Linked DNA regions of Homo sapiens: all the other regions are linked to region 3. Evidence: promoter capture Hi-C in 16 types of primary human blood cells and fetal thymus (Javierre and others, 2016). All regions are on one chromosome and are shown on one strand. The core of a region is centred on a gene start or on the middle of the fragment in contact, and the rest is flanking DNA. Distances in the headings are between cores, read along the strand shown. Region 1 overlaps CTIF (cap binding complex dependent translation initiation factor). Region 2 overlaps SMAD7 (SMAD family member 7). Region 3 holds the start of DYM (dymeclin).

The links. The method cuts DNA at HindIII sites, captures the fragments that hold promoters and counts their contacts. A CHiCAGO score of 5 or more calls a contact.
Region 1: a contact is called between a fragment that was not itself captured here and the fragment with the promoter of DYM in region 3, in 1 of 17 cell types (naive CD8 T cells). The highest score is 6.2, in naive CD8 T cells.
Region 2: a contact is called between a fragment that was not itself captured here and the fragment with the promoter of DYM in region 3, in 1 of 17 cell types (neutrophils). The highest score is 6.4, in neutrophils.

Annotation. Positions count from the first base shown.
Region 1 is chr18:48,835,731-48,838,716 of GRCh38, forward strand. The region is part of intron 10 of CTIF (cap binding complex dependent translation initiation factor); the gene reads left to right. All of the region lies in intron 2 of CTIF-AS1 (CTIF antisense RNA 1), which reads right to left. Among named protein-coding and RNA genes, the nearest start is that of CTIF-AS1, 4.7 kb to the right of the region's middle. RefSeq lists enhancers at 70-970, 971-1,870, 2,141-2,919, 2,920-2,986. The HindIII fragment of the contact is 7,442 bases long and covers 1-2,986 here.
Region 2 is chr18:48,919,483-48,922,408 of GRCh38, forward strand. It overlaps SMAD7 (SMAD family member 7), which reads right to left. Exons shown (of 4, transcript NM_005904.4): 4 at 371-2,428. The coding sequence ends at 1,890. Among named protein-coding and RNA genes, the nearest start is that of SMAD7, 30 kb to the right of the region's middle. The HindIII fragment of the contact is 3,093 bases long and covers 102-2,926 here.
Region 3 is chr18:49,459,370-49,462,182 of GRCh38, forward strand. DYM (dymeclin) reads right to left here and starts at 1,276. Exons shown (of 18, transcript NM_001353214.3): 1 at 1,029-1,276. RefSeq lists a silencer at 675-1,254. The HindIII fragment of the contact is 8,649 bases long and covers 1-2,813 here.

The DNA.
Region 1 (2,986 bases), core at 487-2,986, 620 kb before region 3:
GTGATGGGACTATGTGAGGATCAAGTAGGACATGTCAGGCCAGGTGTGGAGAGGGGACTGTGTGGGAGCTGTCGGTCATGGTCCCTTCCCACCAAGCCCCCCACCTGCCCTCACCCCTGACTTGGCTGCCCCCTACTCAACCTTTGGGTTTCCTCTGCAGAGAAGCCTGCCCTGATCACCTCATCCATCCAAAGGGGGCTCCCTCCCAGCTCCCTGTTTGCATTTGTCATTCTACCCCTCTGCCCCCCACTGTAGGTGGCCTGGGGACAGGCACCGGGCTGTTTGGTCCCCATGGCCCCAGGCCCTCTAGCCCATGAACATTTGCTGCAGGAAGGCACAAATGCATACCCCCGCCCTAGGAGCCACTGCCTTGGAGCCCACCCACCTCCAGGCCCCACCTCCCTCCTCCCCCAGCAGCTGCTTCTCTAAAGAGGCAGCTCCCACTGTGCTCTGGAGCATTCAAGATCCCAGCAACAAAGTCAGAGTTAAAAAGTATATTCTGTGCTTCTCCTGGAGCTGACGTGGTCCCATCAGGTGCCCCCTCTTGAGCACAGCCAGCAGCCCCCAGAGAGGCCCTGGGCTGCCCTTCAGGGTCCCCATGCTCAGCCTGGTCTTTTTCAAGGCCTGATTCTAAGGGCTGTGTGGGCCCTGCTTGCTCTGCCTGGAGGACAGTGGGGTCACCACTGGCATCTAGGGGACCCCTCCACCACCCTGCTGCCCCCTAAGATGCGTATGGGGCAGGCCCTCCAGCTTCTCACACCTCAACTCCAAAGGCCTGGGCGATTATGAGGCACCAGTGAGTGAGATCCCCAACCAACCCCATCACTTCAGCCCTCCAGGTCCCAACATCCCACCAGGTCCCCCTGGACTGCCAGCACCTGCCATTCCCCTAGAGGGGCAAGGAAGCAGGGTGGGAAGCCCCAGGAGACTGCCGTTGGTCATGCCCAGGTAAGGATTAGCCAGGCCTTCCTCCTCCACTCCTCTCCTCTTTGCCTGGTGCAGGAACAACCAGCTAGGAGTCAGGAAATCTGAGTTCTGGTGCTGGCTCTGCTGCCACCCAAGCTGTGCCTCTGGTTTCCTCCTGGGCACCGCACATAGATGCCATCTGTGAGTGTGTCCCCTGCTTAGTCCACATCACCTGCCATCAGCCTGCTGAGAGGGCGCCGGGGCCCAGTGGGACACCCTGGGAAATTGTCAGCTACTAGTCCTGCATCCCTGCCCACATTTGGGCTGTTTGTCCCTTCCCATCGCATAAGGAGCGGGGAAGGGCAGGAAACTGAGGCAGCCAGGGTTTGACAGCAAAGCCTGCACTGCCTGGCCTGGGGGCAAAGGAGTGAGGTCCAGAGGTTACGAGCTGCCAAGGACTGGGGACCTCATCTTTCTCCTCCTGGCTCCCATCCAATGCCCAGGGGCTGGGGGGTCTCCTTTCCCGGGGCCTCCCATACACACATTGGTAAAGGGAGGAACAACAGCCTCATGGTCTCGGATCCAAATCCTCATCCCTGTGCTCACGAGAGCCCCTCCCTAGAGCAAGGGAGCACTGGTGCCTGCCTCACAGGGTGGGGGCGAGAAGGGGGCTGTCTAAGGCCCATCAAGCATTTAGCAGGGGCCTGGCACACATCCCCACTCAGAGGACACCGAGACCACTGTTCATGTCACATCCGGGGTTCAAATTCTCAGTGCTGCAGGAACTCAGAGGAGGAGGAGTGGCCTGGGAGCTGGGGAGGGCTGAGGTCTGGGCTGGGGGAAGCACCTGAAGGCAGGGGTGGAAGCTATGGGCCTAGGGGCACCTGAGCCTGGGTGAGCCCAGCCCAAACTGAACAAAGGCGATTAGAGCTAAGAAGAGGGTCTCAGTCATTTATGGAGCCTCTGCCACTCCCATCCACCTGAAGAGACATTTTTCTCAGTGGTGCCCACTCTGACTGCACCAGAAACACCCAGAGATCTTACTATACAGATTCCTAGGCCCCCACAGCCCTACATAGCCCTAAAATCAAAGAGTGAGGGCTGGATCTGTTTCTCTCCTAGGTGGATCCAGTACAAACACAGGGCTGGGAACTACCCACTGGATGCATCCCTCTCCCTGCTCCCAGATGCCCTGAGCCCCTGCCCCCCACCAACCTGTCCCAGCAGCCCTGGGCAACTGGGTGACTGCGAGGCTAAGAATCCCCCACACCCACACCCTCCCTGGTGGGAAGGGAGTGGGGCTGTCTCTGGAACTCTGATTTGGTTTTGCTGTCCAATGCCAGAACGGGGGCACACTGAGGAAGAGAGACTTTTAAAAACAAAGTCCGTCTTCCCTGGGGTTTTATTTTACCTTGGAAAATAGAAGAACTGATTTTTTTTTTTCTACTTTCCCCCAAACTTGCTCCCTATCAGTGTCCCTAAAGTAGGAAGAGTTCTCACTTCTCCAAGTGTGTAGTCTTGGCATTAATTAAAATCCAGAAATGACAGCAACAAAGCACCTGCTTTTTCTTCCTGCTTTTCTCCCAACACCCCGGCACATCAACAGCCCGTCAGCTTGTGGGTAGACTCACATAGGAGCTGGAGCCTACACTGAACTTTCATCCCAGGCGAAATGCCTATCAGAAGGCAGGTGCGCTGCCTTCCCAAGCCAGTGCCCTCCTAGAGTTGAGCGTGCTGGGCTGCCCACGCCTCACGTGAGCCTCTCGGTGCAGTGGCCGCCTGGAAGATGTCTCACCTGGGTCCTTGCACAGGCAGATACTGGAGAAAATCTGAGGAAATATATAGATTGATTTTTGTCCGCCCCCCTGAAACGAGTCCCCTTTATAGTCACACTTCATAGAAAGCACAACACAGACAGCATGTCTGTGCTTGAGGCTGTGGCTGTGCACACTTGGGTGGGCTCAAAGTATATGCATTACTGCACAACCTTTGTCTCCCTCGGGGCCAACACAGAGTTTAGTGTAGGAGCCTTCACTTAGGCACTGTGTTCACCTTTACAGCCTTCTCCAACACTTCATTT
Region 2 (2,926 bases), core at 398-2,897, 540 kb before region 3:
ATGGACCCAGGTTCTTGGGGCTAAACTTCTCCATCCATCCATCCTCTAATCCTGTCTCCTTCCCATTACCCTAGATGTAATTCCCTGTCCTCAATTCTACAAGCTTTGAATTATCACCCACAGAGCTCCTGTAGGTTGTCTCCCATTACAAATTCAAGACACAAGAAGGAGGGATGTCTGGGTGGCTGCAGGTCTTTCCAGCACTCTTGAAGACCAGGGCTGTTCTAGATGTCTCTTTTGTGGCCCACGTCTCCCATCCTCCAAGCACTGGGCTGGGAAGACGCCAACTCAACTGAATTTGGATGAATACTCACTCCTCCCCACTCCCTCCAAGCAGCAGAAGAAAAAGGAGTTGGAGGACAACATGAAATCAAGTGTACATTTTAAAAATCGTTTAATGGAACATAAACTCCTTTAGAAAAACATTCAGCTAGGTGATAACACCCATAGAAAAAAACACCAATCTTGTGTTTATCTTTTTTAATTTGGCATTTGTTATTTGCATTTATATTAAAGCAAAGTGCATCTTTTCTTTATTTTTCTTGTTTATACACATTGCACAATACATAAATAATGATGCTTATAAAACGTCTTTATATTTACAAGTAATAATATATTTATATATAACATAAAATACATTTTTTTCTTTAATAAATCTCAGGTTTTTTTTCAGGAGTCCTTTCTCTCTCAAAGCACTACAATGCTAAATTTCCAATGAGAATGCTTCTCTTGTTCATTTAAACCTTTGTAGTTAGAAAAATAGCTTATGTTAAAGTCTAAACATGCTCATTGAGCTAAGAACAGTGTCGAAGTATCATACGAGTGTATGAGTTGTAGAAGAAATGAAAGAAGAGTTAGGTGTCAGCCTAGGATGGTACCTTGGGTTATGACGGACCAAATCCTTCTTGGAGGGAAGGGGACTGCTAAGCATGTCCCTCCCAGGGACATCCCCGCTTGCTGGCCTAATAGCAGAGCTTAACACACAGGATGGGAGCAGGCAGTGCTGAGCTGGTTTTCTAAGTCCGGGAAAAACCTGATGTCACCAGGGCAGGCAGGGGAGAGGCTGAGGGGAGAGGGCACTGGGTGAGCAATACTGTGAGGGGGCTGCCCCGGCAGCCCTTGGGAAGCCCATCTCAGGGAGATCCAGGAGCAGATGGCCAAAAAAGAAAGACGCTACAATGGCAGGGGCTGGCAGGAAGGGAATAAGACAAGGATGAAAATAATTGGTTCTGGTTCGGCCACTAGCAGGCTCGCTGCTCAGAAGCCTGTGGACAGGCCCGTGTCCTTGATGAGGGAGAGGAGGGGCAGGGGCTTTCCCAGGCTGGGGACAGAGCCGTGCTCCTGGCAGCTGCTGGGACCCCAGCCGCCAGCTTGCCCAGGTACTGCCTCTGCCCCACTGAGCGTGTCCAAGGGGCAGGAGAGACACCGCTTGGGACTGCAAACCTCTCTGCTGGGGACATCCATAAGAGACACAAAACAAAGAGCACGTTGTCTCCCCATCTGCCGCTCCTGCACACGCGTGCACACACAGCCGCACACTCACACTCACACACACTCCTGACAAGTGAAATGATGACCGCCCCCCTTCATACACTGTGTTTGGTGGTGCTTGGATTTCTGCTTCCCCTCTTCCTATCAGGGTGTCCTGCCGATCATACCTGCCCCTTCTTCCAAAAAAACCCCCAACAATTCTTTTCATAAGCTATTTCTCAAAGAGCGAAACAAAACAGAACACAAACGAGGACGAGAAGAAGAAAACCAACCAACAAACAAAAAAAAAACGACCAAAGAGTTTGCATGAAAAGCAAGCACTCAGGAGGAAAATATTAGCAGCAAAGTAGTTTGAAGTGTGGCCTGCTCAGCTCACGCTCTGTCCCCTCCGCACGCGGCTACCGGCTGTTGAAGATGACCTCTAGCCAGCACGGGCAGCTGCTGATGAACTGGCGGGTGTAGCACTGGCCCCAGCCCTTCACAAAGCTGATCTGCACGGTAAAGCCCGTCCACGGCTGCTGCATAAACTCGTGGTCATTGGGCCGCTGCAGGCTGTACGCCTTCTCGTAGTCGAAAGCCTTGATGGAGAAACCGGGGAACACCTTGTGTACCAACAGCGTCCTGGAGTCCGGGTTGTCCAGTGTGGCGGACTTGATGAAGATGGGGTAACTGCTGCGGTTGTACACCCACACACCATCCACCTCCCGCGTCAGCTGGATGCCGCAGCCGATTTTGCTCCGCACCTTCTGCACCAGCTGACTCTTGTTGTCCGAATTGAGCTGTCCGAGGCAAAAGCCATTCCCCTGAGGTAGATCATAGAAGATATCCAGAGAGGGCTCCTGGACACAGTAGAGCCTCCCCACTCTCGTCTTCTCCTCCCAGTATGCCACCACGCACCAGTGTGACCGATCCCCAGGCTCCAGAAGAAGTTGGGAATCTAGAAAACACATTGGCAGAGAGGGTTAGTGGGGACAGGCATTGGTGACTCCTAGAATGAAGACACCCGCCCCCCCACTGCACCCAGTCACCAGCTCATCTCTCAGGACGAGACAGAAAGAAGGAGGCGGTGAGGCTAGTCCTGGACTTGCCCAGGCTCTTACAGCCCTTTGACCAGGACCCTGCCTTTCTTTAAGCATAGGAAGCGCTGGGTGCTGCTTCTCTCCAGGCCCCTGCCCATCAGGAGTCCAGTACACCAGCATCTGTGCCCACCTGGCCAACAAAGCCTCTTCTCTGCAGAGCACAGATGCAAAGGGACCCTTAATAGCTTGGGTAGTCTGCTTTTAGGGCCTCAAAAAGCCTCAGCAACGTCCTGGAGTTACAGATCTTTCAACTGGATGGAACCTTGAAGGCCAGCTCCTCCAGCCCCTTGTCATCCTGATGAGAAAACCAGGACCCAGAAAGCCTGCTGCTGGAGTACCAGGGGATGACACAGCCA
Region 3 (2,813 bases), core at 26-2,525:
GATAATCACTCCAGAAATCCATATATTCATAAATTTCATCCTCTGCAACAACCATTCACCCATTCCTATAGATTCTCTTCCCTTCCACCTCGTTCTTCTCTTGAGCCCTCAACTCATCAGCCTAAGCACCTGAGTTCCTCTGGTGGACGCTACATTCCTCTCCACGGCCTCCACCCTCCAGGTTTTCATCCTTCAGCACATCACCCTTGCTCTACACACCCCTCTCTCCAACTTCCCCTCTCCTCTTTCAAGGAACTCACTCCATCTGTGCCCCCTAATCAGTCTATCCTGGGTACCCGCTTTGCTGGCCGATTACAATCATCCCATCACTTCTCTACCCCTGTTCAGTAGAGAACAGCTTTATCCAATCAGCTTTACCACACCAATACCCTCAAACCCCACTACTGCCCCCAGTTCACAAACACCCACCCTTTCACTTTTCAGTCAAAACACAATTGCTCAGGCAAATCCACGGCGACTGAAAGTAGATCAATAGTGTAGGGGAGAGAAGGAGGAGTGACTGCTAATGGGTACGAGCTTCTTTGGGGCGGGGGGGGCGGTGATTAAAAATGCTCTGGAGTTAAGGGTGGTGATGGCTGCTCAACCCTGTGAATATACTAAAAACCACTGAGTTGTACTTTTAAAGGGTTAATTTTCTGATATGTTAGTTATACCTCGATAAACTATGAATGTAAAAAGAAGAAAGAAAAACCCAACAGCTATTGCTCACCCTGCCCATCACACGCCCATTTGTCAGACCAACACCGCCCCATCTCCGGAAGCACCGACTTGGCCTTCGGTATCCCCCAACTCCCAACAGCGGACTCGGACAGAGGTCCGTCCGCTGTCAGCACAGCCCCTCCGGGTGGCCCAGGCGCCCGCGGGCAGGGAAGGGAGGGTCCCTTCGCCGCCGCCCCGGGGCGCTGGCCGGGTTGCGGAGGGTGGCCCCTGACCCCCTCTGACAGGAGGCCGGGGACAGCCAGGCTTTCGGGCCCGGCCGCGCTGAGGGGGGCGGCGCTACAGCCCACCTGTCTCAGCCGGCTGGGGGATCTGCTCCAGCTCCACGGACCCGCGGACGGATGGGAGGGTGGCAGAGGGGTCAGGAGAAGTCGCTGTCGCCGCCGCAGCCCAGGTGGCGCACACCGGCTCAGGCCTCCATGTTTCCACGTCTCAGCGGGTACAGATCCGGCTCCGGTCCGGCCTGCAGCTCGGCCCCGGCTCGGCTCCAGCCCGGGCCGCGTCGGTGCGGAGGCCAGGAGGCGGCGAGAGAAGAGGGAAGCGACCGAGAACGCGGCTAGGGACCAGACCCCCAGGCGCGCGCGCCAGCCAGGTGGTCACGTGGCACGCGGCGCGCGCGGGCTTCTGGAAACTGTAGTCCTTTGGGTGTTATTCGTGCCTCCGCCCTCCTAGTACCTCCTGGGCTACCGCAAAGCCACGTGGCGAAATCGAGAAGCGCAAAAACAGCCGTGCGCGGTGGCTCACGCCTGTAATCCCAGCACTTTAGGAGGCCGAGGTGGACGGATCACGAGGTCAGGAGATCGAGACCATCCTGGCCAGCATGGTGAAACCCCGTCTCCACTAAAAATACAAAAAGTAGCTGTTTGAGACAGGATAATCGTTTGAACCCGAGAGGCGGAGATTGCAGTGAGTCAAAAAGTAGCTGTCTGAGGCAGGAGAATCGTTTGAACCCGAGAGGCGGAGATTGCAGTGAGTCGAGATCGGGCCACTGCACTCCAGCCTTGCGACAGAGCTCGACTCTTCTCAAAAAAAAAAAAAGAGAGAGAGAGAGAAGCGCAAAAACCTCACCTGCCGGGTGCTAGAGTCAACCTCACCTGCCAGGTGCTAGAGTCCTCGCTCATGCTACACCGCTCGTTCTGGCGGCTTAACCTTATTAAGGCCTCTGTTAATTGCAGCTGAATAACCATCCCAAAGTCAAGCAATATTGTGTGGGATTCTGGAGAATTGAGAAATAGCAAAATAATTTTTGATGGAGGCAGCTGGCAGGGCTAGCCCTGCCTGCAAAGTTGTCGGAAAGGACAGGTCCCACGGGAAAGAGTAGCAATATGAGATAGTGCCAAAACTATGGAATTTGAAGTCAAATGAGCTGAGGTTTCCACACTGACGTCTTTGAGCAATTACTTCACCTCTCTCAGCCAGTTTCCTCACCTAAAATATATGCATGATGATGATTCTGCCATTACAGGAAATGTTGACATGACTGTAGTAATAACAATTCACATTATGGATTATTTTCTATTTGCCATGCACTATTATTTCGCAAAATGACCCTATGGAACAGATAGCACCGTTATTCCCATTATATAGTCAATATGTGCCAGTGTACTCTGTAAAGTACTATACAAATATTAGGTATTCTTTTCTAGCATAGACTGCCAGTAAATTCACTGAGCTTGCAGAATTATGACAGGAAAACATATTAAAACCCAAAGTAGACTGGGCCCTGTGGCTTATGCCTGTAATCCCAATACTTTGGGAGGCTAAGGTGGGAGGATCACTTGAGCCCAGGAGTTCGGAAGGACCAGCCTGAGCAACATAGCGATACACTGTCTCAACAAAAAATACAAAAATTAGCTGGGAGTGGTTGGCACACCCTCGGTCCCGGCTACTCGGGAGGCTGATGTGGGAAAATCGCTTGAGCCCGGGAGGTTGAGGCTTCAGGGAGCCATAATCTCACCATTGCACTCTACCCTGGGCAACAGAACGAGACACTGTCTCAAAAAAAAAAAAAAACCCCAAACTACCTAACTAAAAAGCCATAGACACTACTATGCAGTCATTGTAAAGAATGCTAT